Linked DNA regions of Homo sapiens: regions 1, 2 and 3 are each linked to region 4. Evidence: promoter capture Hi-C in 16 types of primary human blood cells and fetal thymus (Javierre and others, 2016). All regions are on one chromosome and are shown on one strand. The core of a region is centred on a gene start or on the middle of the fragment in contact, and the rest is flanking DNA. Distances in the headings are between cores, read along the strand shown.

Evidence for each region. The method cuts DNA at HindIII sites, captures the fragments that hold promoters and counts their contacts. A CHiCAGO score of 5 or more calls a contact.
Region 1: a contact is called between a fragment that was not itself captured here and the fragment with the promoter of GRIK1-AS2 in region 4, in 5 of 17 cell types (M1 macrophages, megakaryocytes, M0 macrophages and 2 more). The highest score is 6.2, in M1 macrophages.
Region 2: a contact is called between a fragment that was not itself captured here and the fragment with the promoter of GRIK1-AS2 in region 4, in 1 of 17 cell types (monocytes). The highest score is 5.3, in monocytes.
Region 3: a contact is called between a fragment that was not itself captured here and the fragment with the promoter of GRIK1-AS2 in region 4, in 1 of 17 cell types (monocytes). The highest score is 5.7, in monocytes.

Annotation. Positions count from the first base shown.
Region 1 is chr21:29,835,854-29,838,786 of GRCh38, forward strand. The region is part of intron 1 of GRIK1 (glutamate ionotropic receptor kainate type subunit 1); the gene reads right to left. Among named protein-coding and RNA genes, the nearest start is that of GRIK1-AS1, 89 kb to the left of the region's middle. The HindIII fragment of the contact is 805 bases long and covers 963-1,767 here.
Region 2 is chr21:29,779,675-29,782,742 of GRCh38, forward strand. All of the region lies in intron 1 of GRIK1 (glutamate ionotropic receptor kainate type subunit 1), which reads right to left. Among named protein-coding and RNA genes, the nearest start is that of GRIK1-AS1, 33 kb to the left of the region's middle. The HindIII fragment of the contact is 5,578 bases long and covers 1-3,068 here.
Region 3 is chr21:29,797,826-29,801,101 of GRCh38, forward strand. All of the region lies in intron 1 of GRIK1 (glutamate ionotropic receptor kainate type subunit 1), which reads right to left. Among named protein-coding and RNA genes, the nearest start is that of GRIK1-AS1, 51 kb to the left of the region's middle. The HindIII fragment of the contact is 2,198 bases long and covers 375-2,572 here.
Region 4 is chr21:29,594,391-29,597,734 of GRCh38, forward strand. It overlaps GRIK1-AS2 (GRIK1 antisense RNA 2), which reads left to right and starts at 1,650. Exons shown (of 3, transcript NR_033368.1): 1 at 1,650-2,388; 2 at 3,180-3,304. GRIK1 (glutamate ionotropic receptor kainate type subunit 1) reads right to left here. Exons shown (of 18, transcript NM_001330994.2): 9 at 2,136-2,180. The HindIII fragment of the contact is 3,262 bases long and covers 870-3,344 here.

The DNA of each region.
Region 1 (2,933 bases), core at 115-2,614, 240 kb after region 4:
ATTGCTTGGTGATTTTGGTACAGTCTGATTAGATAATTCCGGCTTAAAGTAACCTGTTCCTCAACAGCAGGTTTGTTTTCCCCAACCACGCAAATATTCATTCCTTTCTGACTTGATGGCAATAGACACACTTTGGTGAAAGAAAGCTGTGGGAGAAACTGTTCCTTGGAAAGCAATAGCAGGCTGCACTCTTCACCAAGCCTGGCAGGCTGCTGCCCACTGTTCTATTACAAGCACATTCATTTCAGTCGGTCAGTGCACTGTCCTTTGTAAAGTAAAGAGTATAATTTCTTAGATATAAAAAGAAAGCAGAAATCTACCAGCAGGAAATTGAACTGAGGCACTGGGAAATTTAAGAGAAAATTGTATTATTTCTTTCTGTTTTAATACAATGGATAAACCAATCATGAGAAATAACATTCTCTTGGGGCCAAGTAGGGAAAGGATAGCTATGTAAAAGTACTAAGTCAGATGATCAGTCTCTAGAAATGCTTATGATACACAGAGACAGACACACGTCCCCTGGCTTATTTGCAGATGTTAATTTTAGGTTATTTTTATGCAGTATAGCTCCTTTTATTTCCTAACCAATTTACTCAACTCTGGGAAAAGTCCCTATGTACAGTGGAACAATTATTAGGATAATTATAGTAAAACATATACTAAATAAATTTTCTGCTAGGCAGATTAAAAATAAGATCCACTCTGATTTGCCATTGTTGCCTGTGAATTATAAGTTTATAAACATGAAAGTTGGATATTTTGATAAGTATATATTTAATAGATAATGCACACATATACATGTGTAATGTTGCATATATATATATATTTACACAGACACTATCATAAGCCCACAAATCTCACATCATGAGAAATCAGACAAATATTACATTAAATTCTAACGTGTCCATACCTTTCTTAATGCTAAAAAATGTAATTTCATTGATAGTGTAGAAGTATAAAGCTTAGTTATCTTCTTTCAAAATTCTCTTCTATTAAAATGGGGGCTGAGAGGAAAGAAGAAGCCACCTACATTTTGTCTCTAGGAGCCAAGAAAATTATGCTTTAGATATTGCCCACAGTTTTAGAGATAAAGTCCAACTCTCACCTTAGGCATAAAGTCCCTCATGATCCAGCACCTGCTTTTTCTCTAGCTGCTTTGGCACTTGGGACCCTTCACCGTAAGTACACCCTGATGCAGTCTTCAAAATCTGAAATGCTAGTTCATACCCTTTTCACATGCTTTTCTGAATGGGATGTAATCGTTTTTTGGATAGCTAAGCTGAAATTGTAATTCAAAATTAATCTTTTCTGGTTTTCACACCCCTTATATTTTCTGGTATCTCTCTCTCCTACAAGGAGAGTTGTTAGAGTTCAGGAACTTCATCTGCAATGATCTTGTGTTTCCTGACACCGTTTTGGCACATAGGGGAGGCTCTACAAGTGTTTATTGAGTAAAAGAATAAATGAGTGATTGACAATGAACTTCCTCATTTCTCTTCCGAAAGCCTTTAGCAGCATCTGATGCTTCTTAACATAGTTATGTCCAGGGAAGAACAACTTCTAGATATTTATAACTCATTGTGAATATAATAAATATGTGATTATATTGAGTTAGAGTCACAGGAGGCAGGACTATGAGAGCACTGAGAAACTGAAGAATAGGAGGACTAGGCAACCACCAATGGGGGGGAATGACAGCAAAGAGAAGTCTGGGAAACAAAGACAATTTTCCTATAGAAGACTACTTTTTGCTAGAGTCAGCCAAGCTTATGAGCATATAGTTCATATTTAAATCTAAATATTTTAGAATATATGAAGAATAAACCAGAAGAAAATACATTTGTTTATAAATATATCAAACTTAAAGCAGACCCACTGTGATCATAAGATTTAGAATATAAAAAACTTACCGTTTAGTAAACAGTGCCACTGTTCCACATTAGTGGTACTTGGGTAAAAACACACAATAGTCTTATACAGTGTGGCTTCCAAAGCCCCGAGTGTGGAGAAGCCCCCAGTATTCTATATTTTGCCCCAAGAAACTTTATATTTCTGGGAAAACTAAAATCCACCTTCCAGTATTCTAAGTAGAAATGCAAATTTCATAATTTTGGAAAGGGAATAGGTTTGATTATACACTAAGAATCTGAAGAGGAAGATGGTTCAAAAAGTTAAAAGTGAAATTTTATCTATATGTTTCTAAATGATTTCAATAAAGGAGAAAAGAGGAAACTTCTTAAATTAATAAGCAGGTTTGCAAAAGACCCATTCAAAGAATTTCTGCATTAAAAGCTCATTGGGTCCATAATAGGATAAGAGGAATCAGCCCTTGATTCAGTAGCGAATATAGTATCATAGAAGCCCATAGGAGGAGTGCTGGAAGTCAAAGTTCTAACCAACTGGGGGCTGCAGAAACTGAATTGGACAACCAAGAAGATAGTTTTGTATTTTAAACTATGAAGAGTACTAAAGCTCTCTGAAGAACTTCAATGAAGACGGATATCACAGAAAAAAAAAAGATTCCTCATTGGCCATTTAGCTTCCATCTTGTTTGTACTGAAAAAAACTCAAAAGGTGAAACAGTTATTAGTAAGTGGGAACTGAAATCCATGATGGATTAAGAAGTTGTAAGTGACTCCTGCCCCTACTCACTCTTCTGCTGCTCTCCGGGAGTTCTGGCTCCTAGTTTAACTGGGTTGAACTCAAAGATATTGCCTGCCTGCAAGACTTCAGAAACAGCAGAACTAGTAGGTCTAAGAGAAATCACAGCAAATAATAGAAGACTGGTGAAGGGCAAATCACTATCTAGTTTTCAGCAAAATAACGTGGATTTTACAAGCCAAAGCTCTGAGTTTGATACTGATTACAGCAGAGACTCTAAAATTATTAAAGAATGTCCTGTAATCTCTTGTAATAAAATAACAGTTACA
Region 2 (3,068 bases), core at 423-2,922, 190 kb after region 4:
ACTCAATGTCTTCTCTCCCAAACAACTTAGGGAATCAATGGCTGAGCAACATTAGCTAGGCTCCAAAAATTCCACTAATTTACTATGTGATAATATCGTTTTAAAGATGTGGTCTTATAAAAAGTTACATTCTCATGGAACAACTTTTGCTGGAGGTATCTAGCTGACAAAATGTAGATAGTGAGATTGGTGAAGGCTAATTACTTATATGACTGTGACCTGCAAAATACAAGTGCAAAGAAAAAAAACCCTCATGCCTGGATTTTCTTCTTGGAACACTAAATACTATGAAATAATTAAATCTGAACTGCAGGTTGGGCACTTCTTTATTAGCTTTGTGGTCTTGGTCAAGTTATCTAACTTCTATGACCTTAAATTTACTCATCTGTAGAACGGGGCTAATTATACCTATCTCATAAATAGATACTACCTCTTAATTAGGTGGATTCAGTGAGATAGAATATGTAAATACTGTAGCTAATTGGATGCCAGCTAGTATCTACTTACTCTGAAATTAGTAAGTGTTAGTTGGAATTTCCTGAAAGGTACTTATGGGGACTATTATTTTGAACCACGTTCCCCTTTTCAGCCATGTCCATGAGATTACAAGGAACCACTAAGATTTATATATTTTGGATTTAAGCTAAATTTACCCATCTTGGACATAGTTATCCATTATTTTGTAATAACATTATTGGAATATTTACAAAGATGGTAAAATAGAAAAATTCAGTGCATGAGACAGTTTAGGAAGGCATATATATTCTGAAAAGAAAGTGGGTGCTATCACTTGAATTATTAAAGCCAACAAGTACCCCAGAGGTTGCTTAAGATTTCATTTCACTTAGCTAGGGTAAACCTGCCTGAAGTAGCGGAGAATTTGCTAGGTATCCCTGCCTGCGACAATAGAAACAGAAGCCGTTCAATCAAAGCAAACAGGAGAACGAGCAGCTTTAGGGGAATTAGGGCAAGAATCTCTTGTGGCTCAGCATCATTTTATCACTTGATTTCAAGCCAGCAAACTTGTTTCTGATGATTAGATATTGTTCTTAATTGCAGAAGAAGCACCTTATGGATTTCCTGTCCATCTTTATAGTATATTTCAATATTTTGTAACTAAATCACTATTGCTTCTGCCACACCTGCTTTACATTTGACACATTGAAGGGTGAGTAAAAATGATTAGAGACAATGTTTATATGAAAGACATGTCAGGAGAGCAAGAGAGAGGATCTGCTATTCCTGGATGATTTATTTCCACCCACAACCCAAAATTATACCAACCCCTCAACCTCAGATTATAGATATAACACATTCCCATCTGGAATAGCCAAGCAATACAAAAGAAGTATTAAGAAAAGTAAAACCCATCTAAAATCTCACTCCCAGGGGTGACATAGGTGAGCATTAAAATGCTCATTTTAATGAGTATTCTTTAAGACATCTCTTTTATGTACACACATGCACACACGTATACACAAACCCTTTTCACAGATATATACACAAAATTTTATATAAATGGAATCATACCTATCTGTGCTTCTTTGCAACTTTATACTTCTTTGCAACATGCTCCTTCCTTTTTTCCTTTCTTTCTCCTTTCCTAAAACCTCCTTCCCTCCCACACTGCATTTCTTCCTTTCTTCCATCCCACCTTAATTCCTTCCTTCCATTTTTTATTTTCCAGGAACAAGGAGTTAATTATATAACTTTCATGGCCTACTATCATCATTAGCCCATGCAATATCCCTCTTTATAAATACGTACCTATGTGTATGCCATTGTATTTCCCACTCTCATTACTCTCTTCCCCACCCCAAGCTGGTGAACATTCAATGGATTTAATGTATATCTTTAAATGTCTATAGTTGTTGTATGCACTTTTAAACTTACATAAATTTTGTTGTTTTACAGATATCTTTCTGATTTTTTTTTTTCTCAGCACTATCCCTGTTCTTACATGTGCACCTAACCTACTGTTTCTTTTTTTTTTTTTTTTTTTTTTTTGAGACGGAGTCTCGCTCTGTCGCCCAGGCCGGACTGCGGACTGCAGTGGCGCAATCTCGGCTCACTGCAAGCTCCGCTTCCCGGGTTCACGCCATTCTCCTGCCTCAGCCTCCCCAGTAGCTGGGACTACAGGCGCCCGCCACCGCGCCCGGCTAATTTTTTGTATTTTTAGTAGAGACGGGGTTTCACCTTGTTAGCCAGGATGGTCTCGATCTCCTGACCTCATGATCCACCCGCCTCGGCCTCCCAAAGTGCTGGGATTACAGGCGTGAGCCACCGCGCCCGGCCTAACCTACTGTTTCTAAAAGCTGCCTATTGTGCCCTGGTTCCATCCTCTACTCATTCCTTAGTGATGGGCATTTGGGTACTGCCAACTCACTGTCCCGTATACAACACTGCAACACCTTTTTTTTTTTTTTTTCTGAGACGGAGTCTCGCTGTGTCGCCCAGGCTGGAGTGCAGTGGCGCGATCTCGGCTCACTGCAAGCTCTGCCTCCCGGGTTCACGCCATTCTCCTGCCTCAGCCTCCCGAGCAGCTGGGACTGCAGGCGCCCGCCACCAAGCCTGGCTAATTTTTTGTATTTTTAGTAGAGACAGGGTTTCACCGTGTTAGCCAGGATGGTCTCGATCTCCTGACCTTGTGATCTGCCCTCCTTGGCCTCCCAAAGTGTTGGGATTACAGGCCACTTTTTTCGGTAATGTTCCCTTTCTTTGGGACATATGTCAGGAATGGAATTGCTGAGTCATGGAGAAAGTTTATATTTAACTAAGTGCGCCAAACACTTCACAGATTCTTGATTTTTCAGAAGGGCAAGGGGTGGTCAGCACCCCCAAGATGGAGTATCATGAGGTCTAGGATTCTCTTTGGTCCACAGGCTTACTCTGATTGATTCTGTGCCTGCCTGTTACAGGCAGAGAGACAGGGGCCTGGATTACCCATTGAACCTGTTTGTCTTGTAGATTTGAATTACTTATTTCACATAAAACGGGCAAAGATTTCCCCATGGATACTACTCAGATTTGAAACTAGTTTTTCCTAACGATGACATGGATGTCTTTCT
Region 3 (3,276 bases), core at 224-2,723, 200 kb after region 4:
TCCCACTAGATGAGGTTTCCTCCTGCAATGCCCAATCATCCCTTTATTATTGCCTCCTCTGAGTAGATACTGCATCCTACACTCTTCATGAAATTCAGCTCTTTCTTCAGTGATGAAAAACAAATAAAGTCTGTTTTTCAGTTTGTTGGTTTTTAGTCCCAATGAGTATGTTTTCTTCTTTTGTTTTGTACTCATATGTAAGTCCCCAGAGTACTTCTAAAACAAATTATAGAGAATAGGTGGCATCTACTCAACATGATGAGTCCTGAATACCGACTGGAAGAAATTGACTTTATTTATTAAAGATCCTTTCTATCTACTGTCTTTTATAATATACTTGGCTGTCTGTCTTGCATTGATCCAACCTGATAATAAGCTTTATTAGGTCTATCCTCTGAACATCCAAGGATACTGCTGCTAAAAATTCTTAGGCGAATGGGAAGTAATGACTTACCAGATTCTCAATTTAGGTTTTATTGGTGACCTCACTGAAAAAGCTAACAATAGGATGGATAAAATTTAACTCTACTACGTACTCCAGGATTATCGTTCATTACTTTAATGTAAGTAGTGCTAAGTAGTTTAGCATAACTTTAAACACACAAGTTCTTTTTCTTACAACTATATAGCTTAGAGCCCTAAGATGATTTAGTTGTTCAAATTTTTCCCTAAAATTCTGCAATTTGAATAAATATGAGAACTCCAAGTGAATTCCAGTCTTAACATTGTATCACATTAAATTGAAGAAAGAAAAGCAAGACAACTACCACAGTGCCTTTTAAAAATCCTTCATTCATTACCTGCATTTCTCAAAGAATTTTAGAGTGATTTCAAAGAACATTAAAAGAAACACTTTTCAAAGTCCACTTTCCTCTCAATTCCTGTCTCCAAATACTCCTCGGCATGTCCAAAGCCTCTTTGGGTTGCTCAAAGCAGTATTAACGTGCTGACAAATTCTAGGGACTCTGTATATTAATTCTCCTTAAACATTGGTGGGTTAAAAATGACACTATATAGTCCGAAGACATCACCTGGCTGGCTTGCTTTACTTGGTGGTTGGTTTGGTTAGATGCTGTGTTTGGTGGAGGTAGGAGTGAAGATTGGAGAGAGGCTGAGAGAGATCGATGCTAAATTAATTCCATTTGTCCCTACTGACAATCAACAAAAGATTACCTCCAGATAATACTATCTCAGAGAACACCTGAGAACTGTAAACATTGCCTGGAATTGTCACATTCCAAGAATGCCAGCAATCCCAGGCTAAACCTCATCATCCAAAATAAAGGTTATCAACCCTTTTCCTCATATCAGTTACATGGAAACAATCACATCTTCCGTCTTGGACATTTCAACCTTTAATGTGCCATCAAAGCATTATATTTAAAAATCTGTCTTGCTTAATTTTATAATTAGAAGAACTGGAAAAGAATTGCAACCGTTTTAAGACATTTAGACTGACATGGACACTTACCATATGTAAAACCACATGGCGCTGTTATGCTATTCACGGAATGTCTCACTTAAGGTAGAGAGTAGAATATCTTCCACTTAACATGTAAACAAATGTTTAAAGACATTAGGTGACCTGTCCAGGGACACACAGCCAGTAAAGGCCAACCTCAGATTTAAACCCAGCTGTATCTCACTCCAGAGCCCCAGAGCCCAGGTGTTTTTGTTTGTTTGTTTGTTTTCATTTGTTTTTTGTTTGTTTGTTTGTTTTTTGAGATGGAGTCTCACTCTGTCGCCCAGGCTGGAGTGCAGTGGCACAATCTTGCCTCAGTGCAACCTCTGCCTCCTGGGTTCCAGCGATTCTCTTGCGTTAACCTCCCAGGTAGCTGGGACTACAGGCATGCACCACCATGCCCGACTAATTTTTGTATTTTTAGTAGAGACAGGATTTCACTATGTCGGCTAGGCTGGTCTTGAACTCCTGACCCCAAGTGATCCACCTGCCTTAGCCTCCCTCCCAAAGTGCTGGGATTATAGGCATGACCCACAGTGCCCAGCCAGTTTTTTTAAACAGACAACATTTATATTCAAGTAGAAATTCCACTTATGGTATTACTAAAGAGGTCATTTTAAGGTTAAACCATTATTGGCTCTACAGTAAAGTGTGAATGAATTTTGTTAAGTGGAAAATAATAAAATTTATTTAATCATAAGAGGCTTCTCCGAACTTCTTCTGCAAATGAGATTGTTGTACTGAGGAGTCTCCTAGGGTCATAACAGCTTGCAAAGTACATCGTTCTCTTATGCCATGGCATGAGAATTTAGACAGTTCCTTTTTCTGTGGGTACATGACAGCAAATCCCTTATAAGTTATCTGGATCACAAAAATGAAATACACGATCTGGCTTTCTTAAAGCCTACATAGCCCAAAGCACTGGCCCTTTAGCTGCTCCCTCTAGGCATGCAACAATTCAATGCTACCAGGCATTTCCTTTCTTATGTGTCAGGGCTTATCTCTGAGAACAGTAGAAAGTGATTTTACAAATCGAAAGGAAAACAACTTTTCTCCACCATGTGTATGCATTCTTACAAACCCATACTGGCCCATTTTCCCCACTCTAAAAGCTTTTAAAAAGAAGACACCTTTATTAAGCAAGCATTACAAGTCAGCATTATTGTATTCACACATATATGACAGAATGGACTATAGCGAGAGTATGTACCCAGGTCTTGCAACTTTAAAAAGGGAATGTGTTCTTAACATTTCCTAATGGTCAATTGTTTCTTTATTGTACTTGATGAATTCTTGTTGGAATTTCTGTTGGCTCAATAAACCAAAAACTCTTCAAATGAAAATAAAGTTAATGAAACAAACCAACCCGTTCACGCATTAGGCTTTTGATGAATACCTTCTGTGCACCTAACACTATAGTAGATTGTGTAGAAAACACAAGAAAGTATAAGACATGGTCTATACCACAAAGATACTTTGTATATTGGAAGATGAACACTGTCACACAAGTATGAACAAAAAATGGTAAGACCCTGTATGTAGACAAGTCGGAGGAGGGAGAAAGAGGATCCATGGTCTATACCTGAGTGCCTGAGGACAGGGTGAGGCAGCTGATGGGAGAGGGCAAAGGGCGGTAATTGCTTTGATTTTGCCTCATCACAACTCCAAAGCCAGCAACTGGTTTACAAAACAAGGGCCATGATCTCACTGAAAATAATATTACAAGAGATCCGATGGTGGATCATTTAACTTTTAATGCTCTCATTTTACAAGTGAAGAAATCAAGACAGACTGGTGTTGAGTACCTTGTTGAA
Region 4 (3,344 bases), core at 400-2,899:
TCAGTACTGTTCTACGAACTAGGAGGAGTGCCTCCAGGGAGCGGAACCTCAGTTTTCAAGCTTCACAGTGAAAGCAGACAGTAGTCATTTACCAGTGAGAAGTAGTGGAGGGTGGATCAGTTACTTGTGGGGAGGAGCACTCAATATCTAAATTACCTGGCCCTGATTTCTTTCACTTTGTAAGCTGGCACAAGGGAGCAGCCATGTGTTATCTAGGACAACTGAGAAAAGCATTTGAAAATGAGTGCCCAAATGACATTAAGCAAACTTTTTTTAAAAAGCGATGCAATAAAAAGGGTATTCAGAGAGCCACTAGTATCTATCTTCTAAACCTAGACAGTGATTCATGTAAACTCAACATCTAAAGTGGCTGAGGGAAATAATCAGGTATCTAGGGCAAAGATAAAGGTATATGTGTTTCCTGTATTACGAACCTTATATAACAAATATTTTAGTGAGGGATGTTGTAAAGATTGCTACCTTCCTCTTTTGGAAAGAATTTTGGGTGAATAATACTATTCTAAAATAAGTCAGAGTACGAGGAAAGCTTTTGGGATTTCAATATGATGAAGGTGAATTTTTGTTTAAGTTGGAGACTTCTGGAAAAAGTGCAATGTGTTTGTTGGGTCTGAGTGGGTCGCCTGTGCTAGAACTCAGGTTACCGTGAATTTTTGACGGAGTTATAACACAAAACAGCACACCACAGTATATACAACTTACAATGTGGAACATGATGGGCTACCAGGAGGGAAGAGGCATGAAGGCATGGAGGATCAAGATCAGAAAGTTACAACCCTCGGGAGTGTGTGTGGCTCTTGCAGTTTAGTGACAAATAGAGGACATCCCCCCTCCCCTTTATATAATTTCAAAGCTTGGATTCCATTCCCTGGGACATTTGTATTAGATTAATTCAAAGTGCCCAGAGTCTCAAGATGGATTAGTGTAATAGGTTTTTTTTTTTTTTTTTCTTTTTCTGGGTGCCGGTTAGGTTCATCTATTTACCAGTAAAATTTTAGTGAGGAAACCAGATCGCCTTCTACATGCACTTAGTAGCCTTGTTCACTGAAGATTAAAACAAGGCTTTTAAACCTATGCTTTGAAAACTTAAAAAGAAAAAATTTTTGAATTCATCACTGAGTACTACTAAGAGGGGGACAAGGTTTTTGGCTACAGGGAGAAACTTGTGTACACTTTCTGTGACATAGCTGATAATTTGAAAGATGAAAGTGAACCTGACAAAACTGTTCAAGTTGAACAACCTGAAGCAATTTAAGGTCCATTCATCAGTCCATAGATTTTTTTTACCAAGTAGTTTTAGAGAGAGAGAGACAGAGAGGGAAGGAAGGAGAGGAGGAAGAGAAAGAGAGAGAAGAGATGAAAGAAAATGTTTGCTTACCACGGGGACATTTCTCTGATCCAAATGTTTTTAATGTCTCATATTTGCTTACATAAATCTATGCACATTCATTGGCAACATGGCACTGTATAATAAACTATAAAATAGTGGGTGTTATAATTCACAAGATAATCTCATTTCCTTTCCAAGGTCCCTAACGTTTGTGTCCTCTTTAGAACTGTGGCTCTAAAACAAATTGCAAGACAGTATACTCTGATGAAGATATCACACAAAACAAAAGATAGCTCATGAGAAAAGGAAATTTCTGAAAATGGTTCATATTTTGTGGTGGTGACATTACAGGAGGTGTCCTAGCCTTCTGAGGCTGTAGCCTATCTGACTAGTCTCATGGATCAAATCTATTGTGATTTTTATCCCCCTTAAGGAAAATATTTAGTGATTTGAGAAGGAATATAAATAGGTCAGTGTCTCCTTCTGTTACAGTTGCCTGCTTTCAATCCTAACAAGGACTGATCCTGCCTGGGAGAAACAAAAATAATCTTGGGGGAAATATTTAATCCATAATTATTTAATCCACTGCAAACCTGTTTTCAATTCACAGGTGATGTTGTTGAGAGAGATAACATATTCAATCACTCCTCTCTCTTTACATGGAACTTCCCTTCTAAACTGCAATTGGAGAGCTACAGGTCTGGTAACATTGGAAGGGCACAGGCCTTTCCAATGACATTCCCCATCCCACCCCCAGGTTTCCTGCAGTTGTTGTCAGAGTACAAACCTTCTTCCACACTTTATACAAGTGTTTAGACACTTCGCCAGCAGCCTTGGTTTTCAGAGAGAAAAATAAAATAAAAACAGCACTTAATTAAAATGGAGCGTGAAACCCAGAAGGAATCATGGTGTGTGAGTGCTTAGAGTGTTACAGTTCCCACCCATTGTTTGGAATTTGCATCTTAATTCAATATAAAGCCTGACAATAGGTACAGCAAAGAGACGAATCAAGACTTGGGTCTCACAGAAGTTACCTGGTGGTAAGACTCAATTTTTACTTTTCCTTTCACACACCAAGAAATGCCTTAAAGTGCTTTTCAATGTATACAGGTATGCTGCAGTATTAAGGGTCTTCATTGTTCCTTAAGAAGACCCTTTTAAGGCATTGGTAACTAAAATCAATCAATTAACCAACCAACCAGCAAATCAATCAATACACACACACACACACAAACACACACACACACAGACACACACATATAAAGAAGAAGTATGCTTGATGACTTGTTCTTTGATTATGGGTTTCTGGGCAGTAGAAATTTGAGTGAAAGTGAGAATGGGATTTTTCTAATAATTTTCCCTATTGACTCCAAGAGAGGCTGACATAAAAAGATTGGGCATTTCCTCCCTCGGCTCCTGAGAGAGATGTGTTGGCTTCCCTCATTGCCTTAAGGCCCAATCAGCCTTCTCAGGAATTGAGCCCAAGACACCTGAAGAAAGAAAAGTTATTGCAAACAATGAAGAGATAAGAAACCAACACAAAACACTTTCATCTAATTTGATTTTGCCTTTGATGGAAAAACACCAATGCAATGTGCATAATATTACGGTGTATAGATAGCTGTGAAAGCATAACAATAGCTCCATCTATTTCATCATTCACCTAGCCAAAAAGATGTTTCCTTAACAGCTTTTCTTCCCCCTTCAGTGCTATACATAAGAGGAGAACAGAGTTGGGGAAAGACTCATGCTTCGAGAAGCAGACATTTTCTTAAAAAAATTATAGGCTTTTAGATCATAACAAGTATTTTTTTTCTTTTGTTCCCTCCAGCCAACATCCCATGCACCATCGTGGAGACTGGCTGGATGCCCTGTGCTCTATCAGGGCATGTCAGACCAACAGAGGGGCAAATCAGAGTGAAGAGGAAGCCAGAAGATGGGAGAGACATTTTTGAAGTGAGTAACCTGCATGTATAATGTGTACTCTCAAAACTGC